2 separate regions of the Homo sapiens genome follow, and region 2 is linked to region 1. Evidence: promoter capture Hi-C in human tissues and cell types (Jung and others, 2019). All regions are on one chromosome and are shown on one strand. Each heading gives the region's core, a stretch centred on a gene start or on the middle of the fragment in contact. The rest is flanking DNA. Distances are from core to core; before and after follow the strand shown.

Region 1 (5,111 bases), core at 1,349-3,848:
ATTGCATACTTCAATAACAATTTTAAAGACATAGATTCCCATGAAAATCTTCAAATGTGTGTAGGTCTTTCAGTCTTCTTCAGTCTTATTGTTGGCTGGGAAGCTCATAACAACTGACAAATGATTTGTGACCAAATAACTGTTTTTACTTGACTAAGCCATGATAGAGCAGAATTAGCATCACGGAATAAATCCTATAATTTTGTTAATACAGTGGTTGGATAATGTAATTCTAATCTGTTGGTTTTGGAGAACCTCCTGGGGTTCTGACAACGGTGTCAAAATTTATTTATGTGTTTTCAAGAAATAATAGCACTAGGTCTGTTAGAATATCAGTGGATGACGTGCACTAGTAAGACATTAAACTATGCACTCTAATACTTATATGACTAACAGGACATACAGGCAGATTGTATGTCCTGACTGATATAGTAAAAGTCAGGCACAAAGTTCCTTAATCTTCAATTGATTTTACAAAATCAGTTAACAATAACTGTATTGAAATGACTTCTTGGTATTAGCCTATACCCAGATATTAGGCTGATCCTCAAAGATGAGTTCAAAGGGCGCATAATCTCTTCACTAGGGGCTGGTTGAGATGGTGACATCTGAAATATCACAGCCAAAATGCAAAAGATGGGTCATTGATTCATACACTATATCAAACTCTTTTATGACTTGGCGTTTGTTCAGTACTACTTTATATATTCACAAAATACTGTATTGTTGGAAATTAACACCTAAATTAACATATTGTTTTAATTCAAATATGTGATATTATCATTTTTCCAGAGTAAACCTTCTAAGGTTCATTTCCCTACCTCGCAAGACTCCACATTCCATGTAACATCTTCATCCCCAATTCCCATAATAAGGTGATTGAGGATCTGTTGTTTCCTTTTGTTCAAAATAAACCTGATGTGCTTCAAATATCATGTTGAATATACTGTCATCTGGTCTAATGTTATGTTTTGATTAGAGGCTACTATGATTGATTATTTTACAGATGCGTAATGGAATTAACGGTTATAAAAGTTGATATGTCTCCTTTAATTTTTTAATACAGAATTTTGCATTTACCTGAATTAGAGTTCTAGTGTTATGACAACATTGGGAAAAGAGTAAATATGAAAAAAGTAGAACAAAATCTCAAATTAATAGTTGAATATATATATAAAATATTAGCATACACATATGATAACTTTTTCATATGCCCTTGCAGTATTTTTAGATTGGAGATAAACCATCAAAACTATAGAACAAAATATTTAAGCTAGAGTGATATTTATTCTAAATCACTTTCTACTCTAAAATTTTGTTGCATCTTCTTTTTTTCCTCCTAAATCCTAAGGGTATATGAAAAGACAAAGAAAATTCAAGCAAGTTACAACTTCAGGCAAAGAAAACTCTCATAAGCAATTCCTGTATTTTACTTAGCATTTTCTATGAAATTCCATTTCCACAAGCACTAAGGTAATTTACCATTTAGTTGAATTGTTTGATTAATTTTCTATGTTTTAAGCACAATATCAGGTACTTACAGAAGGTATAATTAAAAATCACTTCCCTTGTTTTCCATGAACTTCTGCTCCCAAACCCAAAATTCTTTCAACAAGAAACAAACTATTTTCATGAATATAACTGAATTAGATTAAGGAAACCAATGTTGGTGACTTGGAAATACCAATATGGCACAAAGATGTTCAGGGTGATTTTATTTATTTTATAAAATGATAATAAAATTTATTTTATAGTTGAAAAGCCTATTTCTGTCATATCATTGATTCTGTTACATAAAGTGCTAAATTTTGATATCTCATATTATGCTACTATGGCTTACATTAGAAATAATATATGTCAAATAAAAACTCATCTAGATCAATAGACTTTTCCTTTGTGGATTCTTTTTTAAAACTACCAAGTTTGAGAATATGAATATATTTGTTTTTCATATTGTTCTGCAATGAATATAAAGTCACTTATAATCAGAAAGCAATTAAATGTAAATAACAGTAAAGAATGAGAACTATAGAAAATAGATATGAAAATGCAAGCCCACAGAGATGAGAATAGATCATGTGGAACATAAACACTAAAGAGCTGCTTTTATAAAACTTCAATTTTTTCTTTGAGTTCCCTAGCAGCCAAAGTAACAAGGGAGACTGAAAGTAAAACAATTCAAATTTGATAGTATTTTTATATGAGGAACAACACTTTCAGGAAATGTTTAACCCTAGTTTTTCATGAGGCCACCTTAACAACTGAATTCTCTTTCTCTCTCACTCTGTGTATAAGTATTTTAGATAAGTAAAAGAACAATGTTATAATGTTAAGTCAAACATAGACACAATAATTTAAATTTGATGTTAATCGAGAAATACAATGCCATTTCCATATATATTTAGTTTCAATATGACTTATAATCTGAATATTCCATAAATAAGCACGTTGGAAATATTTGGGGGAAGAAACCCAAAACACGTGAAATTCTGTGGTGGTAAATGCAGTGCACAGTACTCACAGTTTTAGGCGCAAGGTGTCGCTCTTTACTTGGTGGAAAGTTCATTTAAAGGTTGGTCTGAACAGTGAGGCACTCCCATACAAAGGAACTCCATCATACCGGATGCCACCGTTTAAGGATCCTTTGAAACTTCTTAAGAATTCAACGAGATTTTTAACCTGAAACTGAAGAATCTGGTACTGTAAGTGTAAAGAAGCTTATTTTGGAAGCCAATTTCGTATGCGATGTTTGGTTTTCAGAGAAGGGGATTGGGCACCCCACGACTACAGCTCTGGCTTCTCCTCCTCGAATTCTGGGAGGTGGGGAGCGGCCAGCTCCACTACTCCGTCTCGGAGGAGGCCAAACACGGCACCTTCGTGGGCCGCATCGCGCAGGACCTGGGGCTGGAGCTGGCGGAGCTGGTGCAGCGCCTGTTCCGGGTGGCGTCCAAAACACATGGGGACCTTCTGGAGGTAAATCTGCAGAATGGCATTTTGTTTGTGAATTCTCGGATCGACCGCGAGGAGCTGTGCGGGCAGAGCGCGGAGTGCAGCATCCACCTGGAGGTGATCGTGGACAGGCCGCTGCAGGTTTTCCATGTGAACGTGGAGGTGAAGGACATTAACGACAACCCGCCGGTGTTCTCGCTCAGAGAACAAAAGCTGCTGATTGCGGAATCTAAGCAATCGGACTCGCGTTTTCCACTAGAGGGAGCTTCTGATGCTGACATTGAAGAGAATGCTCTATTGACCTACAGGCTAAGTAAAAATGAGTATTTTTCTTTAGATTCACCAACAAATGGTAAGCAGATTAAAAGACTGTCACTTATTTTAAAGAAGTCTCTGGATAGAGAGAAAACTCCGGAACTTAATTTGCTGCTAACAGCTACAGACGGGGGAAAACCAGAGCTTACTGGCACCGTTCGGCTGTTAGTCCAAGTCTTGGATGTCAACGACAATGATCCAGAGTTTGATAAATCAGAATATAAGGTGAGCCTTATGGAAAATGCTGCTAAAGAAACTCTTGTGCTCAAACTAAACGCCACAGACCGAGACGAAGGAGTCAATGGAGAGGTAACATACTCCTTAATGTCAATTAAGCCCAATGGAAGACACTTATTTACACTAGATCAAAATAATGGAGAAGTGAGGGTCAATGGAACTTTAGATTATGAAGAAAACAAGTTTTATAAAATTGAAGTACAGGCTACAGATAAGGGGACTCCCCCAATGGCAGGTCACTGTACAGTCTGGGTGGAAATCTTGGACACCAACGATAACTCTCCTGAAGTCGCCGTGACTTCCTTGTCCCTCCCAGTACGAGAGGACGCTCAGCCCAGCACGGTCATTGCCCTGATCAGCGTGTCTGACCGTGACTCAGGTGTCAACGGACAGGTGACCTGCTCGCTGACGCCCCACGTTCCCTTCAAGCTGGTGTCCACCTTCAAGAATTACTACTCGTTGGTGCTGGACAGCGCCCTGGACCGCGAGAACGTGTGGGCCTATGAACTGGTGGTGACTGCGCGGGATGGGGGTTCGCCTTCTCTGTGGGCCACGGCCAGGGTATCCGTGGAGGTGGCCGACGTGAACGACAATGCGCCTGCGTTCGCACAGCCCGAGTACACCGTGTTCGTGAAGGAGAACAACCCACCAGGCTGCCACATCTTCACAGTGTCGGCGCGGGACGCGGACGCGCAGGAGAACGCGCTGGTGTCCTACTCGCTGGTGGAGCGGCGGTTGGGCGACCGCGCGCTGTCGAGCTACGTGTCGGTGCACGCGGAGAGCGGCAAGGTGTACGCGCTGCAGCCGTTGGACCACGAGGAGCTGGAGCTGCTACAGTTCCAGGTGAGCGCGCGCGATGCGGGCGTGCCGCCTCTGAGCAGCAACGTGACGCTGCAGGTGTTCGTGCTGGACGAGAACGACAACGCGCCGGCACTGCTGGCGACTCAGGCTGGCAGCGCGGGAGGCGCAGTTAACAAGCTAGTACCGCGGTCGGTGGGTGCGGGCCACGTGGTGGCGAAGGTGCGCGCAGTGGATGCGGACTCAGGCTACAACGCGTGGCTTTCATATGAATTGCAGCCGGCGGCGGGCGGCTCGCGCATCCCGTTCCGCGTGGGGCTGTACACGGGCGAGATAAGCACAACGCGTGCCCTGGACGAGGCAGACTCGCCGCGCCACCGACTTCTAGTACTGGTGAAGGATCACGGTGAGCCGGCGCTGACGGCCACGGCCACCGTGCTGGTGTCGTTGGTGGAGAGCGGACAGGCGCCAAAGGCCTCTTCCCGGACTTTGGCGGGCGCCGCGAGCCCAGAGGCTGCGCTGGTGGATGTCAACGTGTACCTGATCATCGCCATCTGCGTGGTGTCCAGCCTCCTGGTACTCACGCTGCTGCTGTATACGGCGCTGTGGTGGTCGGCAACGCCCACTGAGGGCGCGTGCGCGCCGGGGAAGCCCACGCTGGTGTGCTCCCGCGCGGTGGGGAGCTGGTCATACTCGCAGCAGAGGCGGCAGAGGGTGTGCTCTGAGGAGGGCCCACCTAAGACGGACCTCATGGCCTTCAGCCCCAGTCTTCCTCTAGGTCTGAATAAAGAGGAGGAAGGGGAAAGACAGGA
Region 2 (5,111 bases), core at 1,460-3,959, 190 kb after region 1:
AAACAAAAACTGGTAGTAGATTGCAGCTTTAGTAAAGATAAGAGTACTTAGTTTGGTGAAAATGGGAAACCTAGAGTGAGGCTAGGCTTACTCAATACAAAGCAGTTATCCTGATCCCCAGATCATATATCTATAACCCTTTCTCCAGTTGGAATTCTGTTTAAAGAAATGTCACCCTCTATAAATGCATATGTGGTAGGAACTTCTGCTTTTCCATCTCTGTGCTAGCAAGTAATGAATAAGCCATTATTCACATTTTCCTTAGAAGTTCATTGGTCCTGGCCCAGGAAATACTTAGTTCCATAGAGAGATCCTTTTATTTGCCTCTAAATTATTTTCCAGTAGAAAGTTATGCATGCATAGGGAAGAGAACTACCTTCCCTTTTTGATATATTGGGAAGTGATTAGGTTTGACAAGCAGAGATATAGTTTATTATTCAGGAATCTCTAAATTCTTGTCCCTGATGAGTGATTATCTTTGATCAATACCTTGCCTGCAATCATTCATAATCATAATCATGGAAATGCCTGGTAAATGGTGATCTTCACAAATAATCATGGTGGGAGGAAGGGTGGAGAAAGAAAAGGATTTCACTTATTTGCAAATGTGAATAAGGGCAGACATAAGGATAAAGAGATTCAGTTTAGGAATGTTCTCCAAAATTAAATTAGATGTAGTTGTTTTTTTTTTTTTTTTTTTTTTTTTTGAGACGGAGTTTTTCTCTTGTTGCCCAGACTGGAGTGCAATGGCACGATCTCGGCTCACTGCAACCTCTGCCTCCTGGGTTCAAGCGATTCTCCTGCCTCAGCCTCCTGAGTAGCTAGGATTACAGGCATGCGCCACCATGCCCAGCTAATTTTTTGGTATTTTTAGTAGAGACGGGGTTTCACCATGTTGGCCAGGCTGGTCATGAACTTCTGACCTCAGGTGATCCACCAGCCTCGGAAACCCAAAGCACTGGGATTACAGGCATAAGCCACCACGCCCAGCCAGATTTGATTTCTTGATTGTTTGGAGCCATAGGCAAGTCTCAAATCTCCCTCTTTTATATCCAGATGTCTATCCTTGCAGTCCCAGAGAAAATCTATTTGAAAAAACGGAAATGGAGGGTGGGTGAGGAAAAAAATAAAGTATGACGGCTGGGCACCGTGGCTCATGGCTGTAATCTCAGCACTCTGGGAGACGGAGGGAGGCAGATCACCTGAGGTCAGGAGTTCGAGATCACCCTGGCTAACATGGCAAAACCCTATCTCTACTAAAAATACAAAAATTAGTCAGTCGTGGTGGCACGCACCTGTAATCCCAGGTACTCAAGAGGCTGAGGCTGGAGAATCGCTTGAACCTGGGAGGTGGAGGTTGCAGTGAGCTGAGATTGTGCCACTGCACTCCAGCCTGGGCAACAGAGTGAGACGCTGTCTCAAAAACATAAAAATAAATACATAAATACATAAATACATAAGGCCTGCTGTAGTTAATAAGTGTTACAGAACACTCTAAACTATTTTGTGCCATTAAGTGTACACAACATTTATTGTAAACCATTTTGTAGTTTGTAGAGCAAATATAAAATAAAAAGACATTAAAATTAAAAAGTTCATTAATACTAATTAAGTGGCATTAAGGAAAGACACATTTTCAGGTAGTACTAGATTTGATTGTAAGCCATTTTCCTCTCTGAGTATTCTGAAGTTAACACATGCAAACTGAGAAAAAGTGGCATTTTTAGTAAATCATTCATAAAATGAAATGGAGTGGGGAGACAACTTAAGCTTCTCTTTGATCACCACTGTTTGATTTCATAAGCTATTCTGAGCCCTCTCATTCTAAAATAAGCCAATGTTAAAACATTAACATATTTCAGGGATTCTCCCAACACTGCTAACTGTGCCTTGAAAGTCAAAAGTTTGCTTTAGAGAAGGGCATGGTGGCTCATACCTGTAGTCCCAGCTACTCAGGAGTCTGAAGGAGGAGGATTGCTCAAGCCCAGGAGTTCAGGGGTGCAGTAAGCTATGATTGCACTTCTGCACTCCAGCCTGGGCAAAAGAGTGAAACCTCATCTCAAAAAAAAAAAAAGTGTGCTTTAATGAGGCTTTAATTATATTCCTTATTTTATAAAAATGTGTGTAAATTCAGACTCACTAGAATACATCCTCTTGGTATTTTAAGGGTAGAGCATTATCTTTTAAAATACTTCTTAAATATACCAAATCATGTTTATTGATACAAACTTCATTCTTGGACTTAATGACTGATACCTAATGGCACCACCTGGCTGTTTACCTGTTGGCCAGGAATACACTAAAATTTAGTGCTGTTATTTTTTAGATGTTAGAGATGCTTAGGGCAGAACTGGTGTAACCTATGGCTGCCTTCAATGTTAAAATGTTAAAGAACAGATGAAGCAAATGCACTATATCAATGAATTGCTTTTATTTTTAATATTAAATATTTTACATACATTGAGTTATGATTCCGATTTAGAGTAAAGGTTTTCTTGCACAAAACATAGAATAAGTGTTCCAGTGTATTTGTGTTCCAATTGGTGAAGGCATGCTGAAATTTCTATTTCCTTTAAATGAAAAAGGAGATAGAATTTTTATTTATTTATTTATTTTTTGGAGACAAAGTCTTGCTCTGTCACCCAGGCTGGAGTACAGTGGCATGATCTCGGCTCACTGCAAACTCCGTCTCCTGGGTTCAAGTGATCTTCCTGCCTCAGCCTCCTGAGTAGCTGGGACTACAGGTATACATTACCACGCCCAGCTAAATTTTGTGTTTTTAGTAGAGACGGGGCTTCGCCATGTTGGCATTTCGCTATGTTGGCCAGGCTGGTCTCGAGCTCCTGATCTCAGGTGATCCACCCGCCTTGGCCTCCCAAAGTGCTAGGATTACAGCACCATGCCCAGCCTAGAATTAATTTTTATGGGTAAGCAATAATTAGTTAATAAAACATGCTTAAGTAAAAGCTACTGTATTAACTGTGTTTCATTACACTTAATGATGTGAACATAATCAATGGAAACTGGCTTAATGTCAAGGATAGGAAAAGAAAATGGTGTAGATTCATGATTTTAAGACTTTGATATTCAAATAGCAGTGAAATTCATGAATACATATATACACACATACACAATGGACAGAAGATGTAGATTTGTCAACTTTTTATTTTTTCACATTAAATGAGATAAAATCTACCACTTCACGCCACCATTATTCCATAAACGAAATGGCATTTTAATATAAAAATGGTTAAGATAGGCTGGGCATGGTGGCTCACACCTGTAATACCAGTACTTTGGGAGGCTGAGGCAGATGGATCACAAGGTCAAGAGATGGAGACCATCCTGGCCAACATGGTGAAACCATGTCTCTATTAAAAATACAAAAATTAGCTGGGTGTGGTGGTATGTGCCTGTAGTCCCAGCTACTTGGGAGGCTGAGGCAGGAGAATTGCTTGCACCCAGGAGGTGGAGGTTGCAGTGAGCTGAGATCATGCCACTGCACTCCAGCCTGGCGACAAAGCAAGACTCTGTCTCAAAAAAAAAAAAAAAAAAGAAAAAAAGAAAAAAGAAAAAAAAAGGTAAGATAACAATCTCATAAAAGAAACCATCCTTTAAATTTAAAAAATGTATCGATTTAATAAAAAATTATTTTGCCACCATTTTTCTTATTTTTGCCTTAGGTGAAAATTTTGTCACTCTAATTTTATTCAGACTTCAAGTTCCCAAGAAAATTCCAATCCTACCTGATAACTTAAAATAAGAATATATCAATTCACTGAATGTGAAGTAGGCCACTTGTTTTTGGAGAGAACTCTGTACACCAGCTGAGATTAAGTCCAGGTCTCTATCAGCAAATTAAGACAAAGAATGGAAATAATTAGGGCAATTACTCTCTCCAAAGTGTCAAGTGATATTATAACTATTTCTATGTATTCAAAGCTATAACCTAAGAACCTTGAAAAGTGTCTTGTACAAAAAGGCTTTTTATTAGGAAATAATTCTAGACTCATAAAATTGCAAAAATACTATAGATAGTTCCTGTATATCCTTCACCTAACTTCCCGGAATGCTAACATCTTATATAACCATAGTAGTTATCAAAATTAAGAAATTAACCTTGGTATAATTCTATGAAGTAAACTACAGATCTTATTCAAATTTAACAGTTTTCCCCCAATGTCCTTTTTCTATTCAAGGATCCAATCCAGGATCCTGCAAAGCATTTGTTATGGCTCCTTAGTCTCTACCACCTGTGACAGTTCCTTACTCTTACCTTGTCTATCATGACTTGAGATTTTTGAAGAGTACTAGCCAGTTATTTGTAGAATGCCCCTCAGTTTGGGATTCTTTGTTTTCTCATTATTAAACTGAGGTAATGCATTATTGGGAAAAATACTGCAGAAATGATATTGTATCCTTTTCAGTGCATCACGTCAGCAGGTATGTGATGCCAATGTCACACTACTGGTGATATTAATCTTTTTTCTTTTATTGTGGTAAAGAACTTATAAAATGTACCATGTTAGCCATTTTTAAGTATGTTAGCCATTTTTAAGTAATGTTAAGGTGATGTTAATTTTGATCGCTTGGTTAACATAATGTCTGCCACGTTTCTCTACTATAAAGTTACTTTTTTCTCTTTGTAATTAATAAACACTTGGGGGATATGCTTTGAAACTATGCAAATATGATGTTTCTGCTTAAACCAATTTTAGTATCCATTGCTAGATATTTCCTGTGGCAATTAATATTGTGGCATTCTAATGGTGATTTTCTATTTCTCTATTTCCTTTTACATTAATTAAAATTCTTCTGGAAGGAAAACTTGTTACTTTCCCCCCCACTTATTTAGTTAGTTATTTCTTTACATAAGGATACCTGGATATCTCCTCTATTATTTGGGTTACAAACTAATCCTATCATTTACTTTGTTGTTCAGCAAACTCTTTTATCTGAGATGAAGAGCAGATTTTTAAGACTGGAATTATCCATATAGAATACATTTTTATCAAAATTAGTATTTCTTTGTAACTCTACATGTTAGATTATTTTAAACAATCATAAAGTAACCCCATTAAGGTTCATGCATAAAGTTTTAACTTTAAATG

Evidence for each region. Contacts are between HindIII fragments. The study calls those that stand out against the background at their distance.
Region 2: a contact is called between a fragment that was not itself captured here and the fragment with the promoter of PCDHA11 in region 1, in 2 of the 25 tissues and cell types used here (mesendoderm cells and neural progenitor cells).

Annotation. Positions count from the first base shown.
Region 1 is chr5:140,866,359-140,871,469 of GRCh38, forward strand. PCDHA11 (protocadherin alpha 11) reads left to right here and starts at 2,599. Exons shown (of 4, transcript NM_018902.5): 1 at 2,599-5,111. The coding sequence starts at 2,746. All of the region lies in intron 1 of PCDHA1 (protocadherin alpha 1), which reads left to right. All of the region lies in intron 1 of PCDHA2 (protocadherin alpha 2), which reads left to right. The region is part of intron 1 of PCDHA3 (protocadherin alpha 3); the gene reads left to right. It also overlaps PCDHA4, PCDHA5, PCDHA6, PCDHA7, PCDHA8 and PCDHA9, and 3 more genes. RefSeq lists enhancers at 3,712-4,387, 4,388-5,061. The HindIII fragment of the contact is 18,501 bases long and covers 1-5,111 here.
Region 2 is chr5:141,054,004-141,059,114 of GRCh38, forward strand. It overlaps PCDHB1 (protocadherin beta 1), which reads left to right. Exons shown (of 1, transcript NM_013340.4): 1 at 1-5,111. It overlaps PCDHB1-AS1 (PCDHB1 antisense RNA 1), which reads right to left. Exons shown (of 4, transcript NR_105056.2): 2 at 3,747-3,847. It also overlaps PCDHB@. Among named protein-coding and RNA genes, the nearest start is that of PCDHB1, 5.2 kb to the left of the region's middle. The HindIII fragment of the contact is 4,957 bases long and covers 232-5,111 here.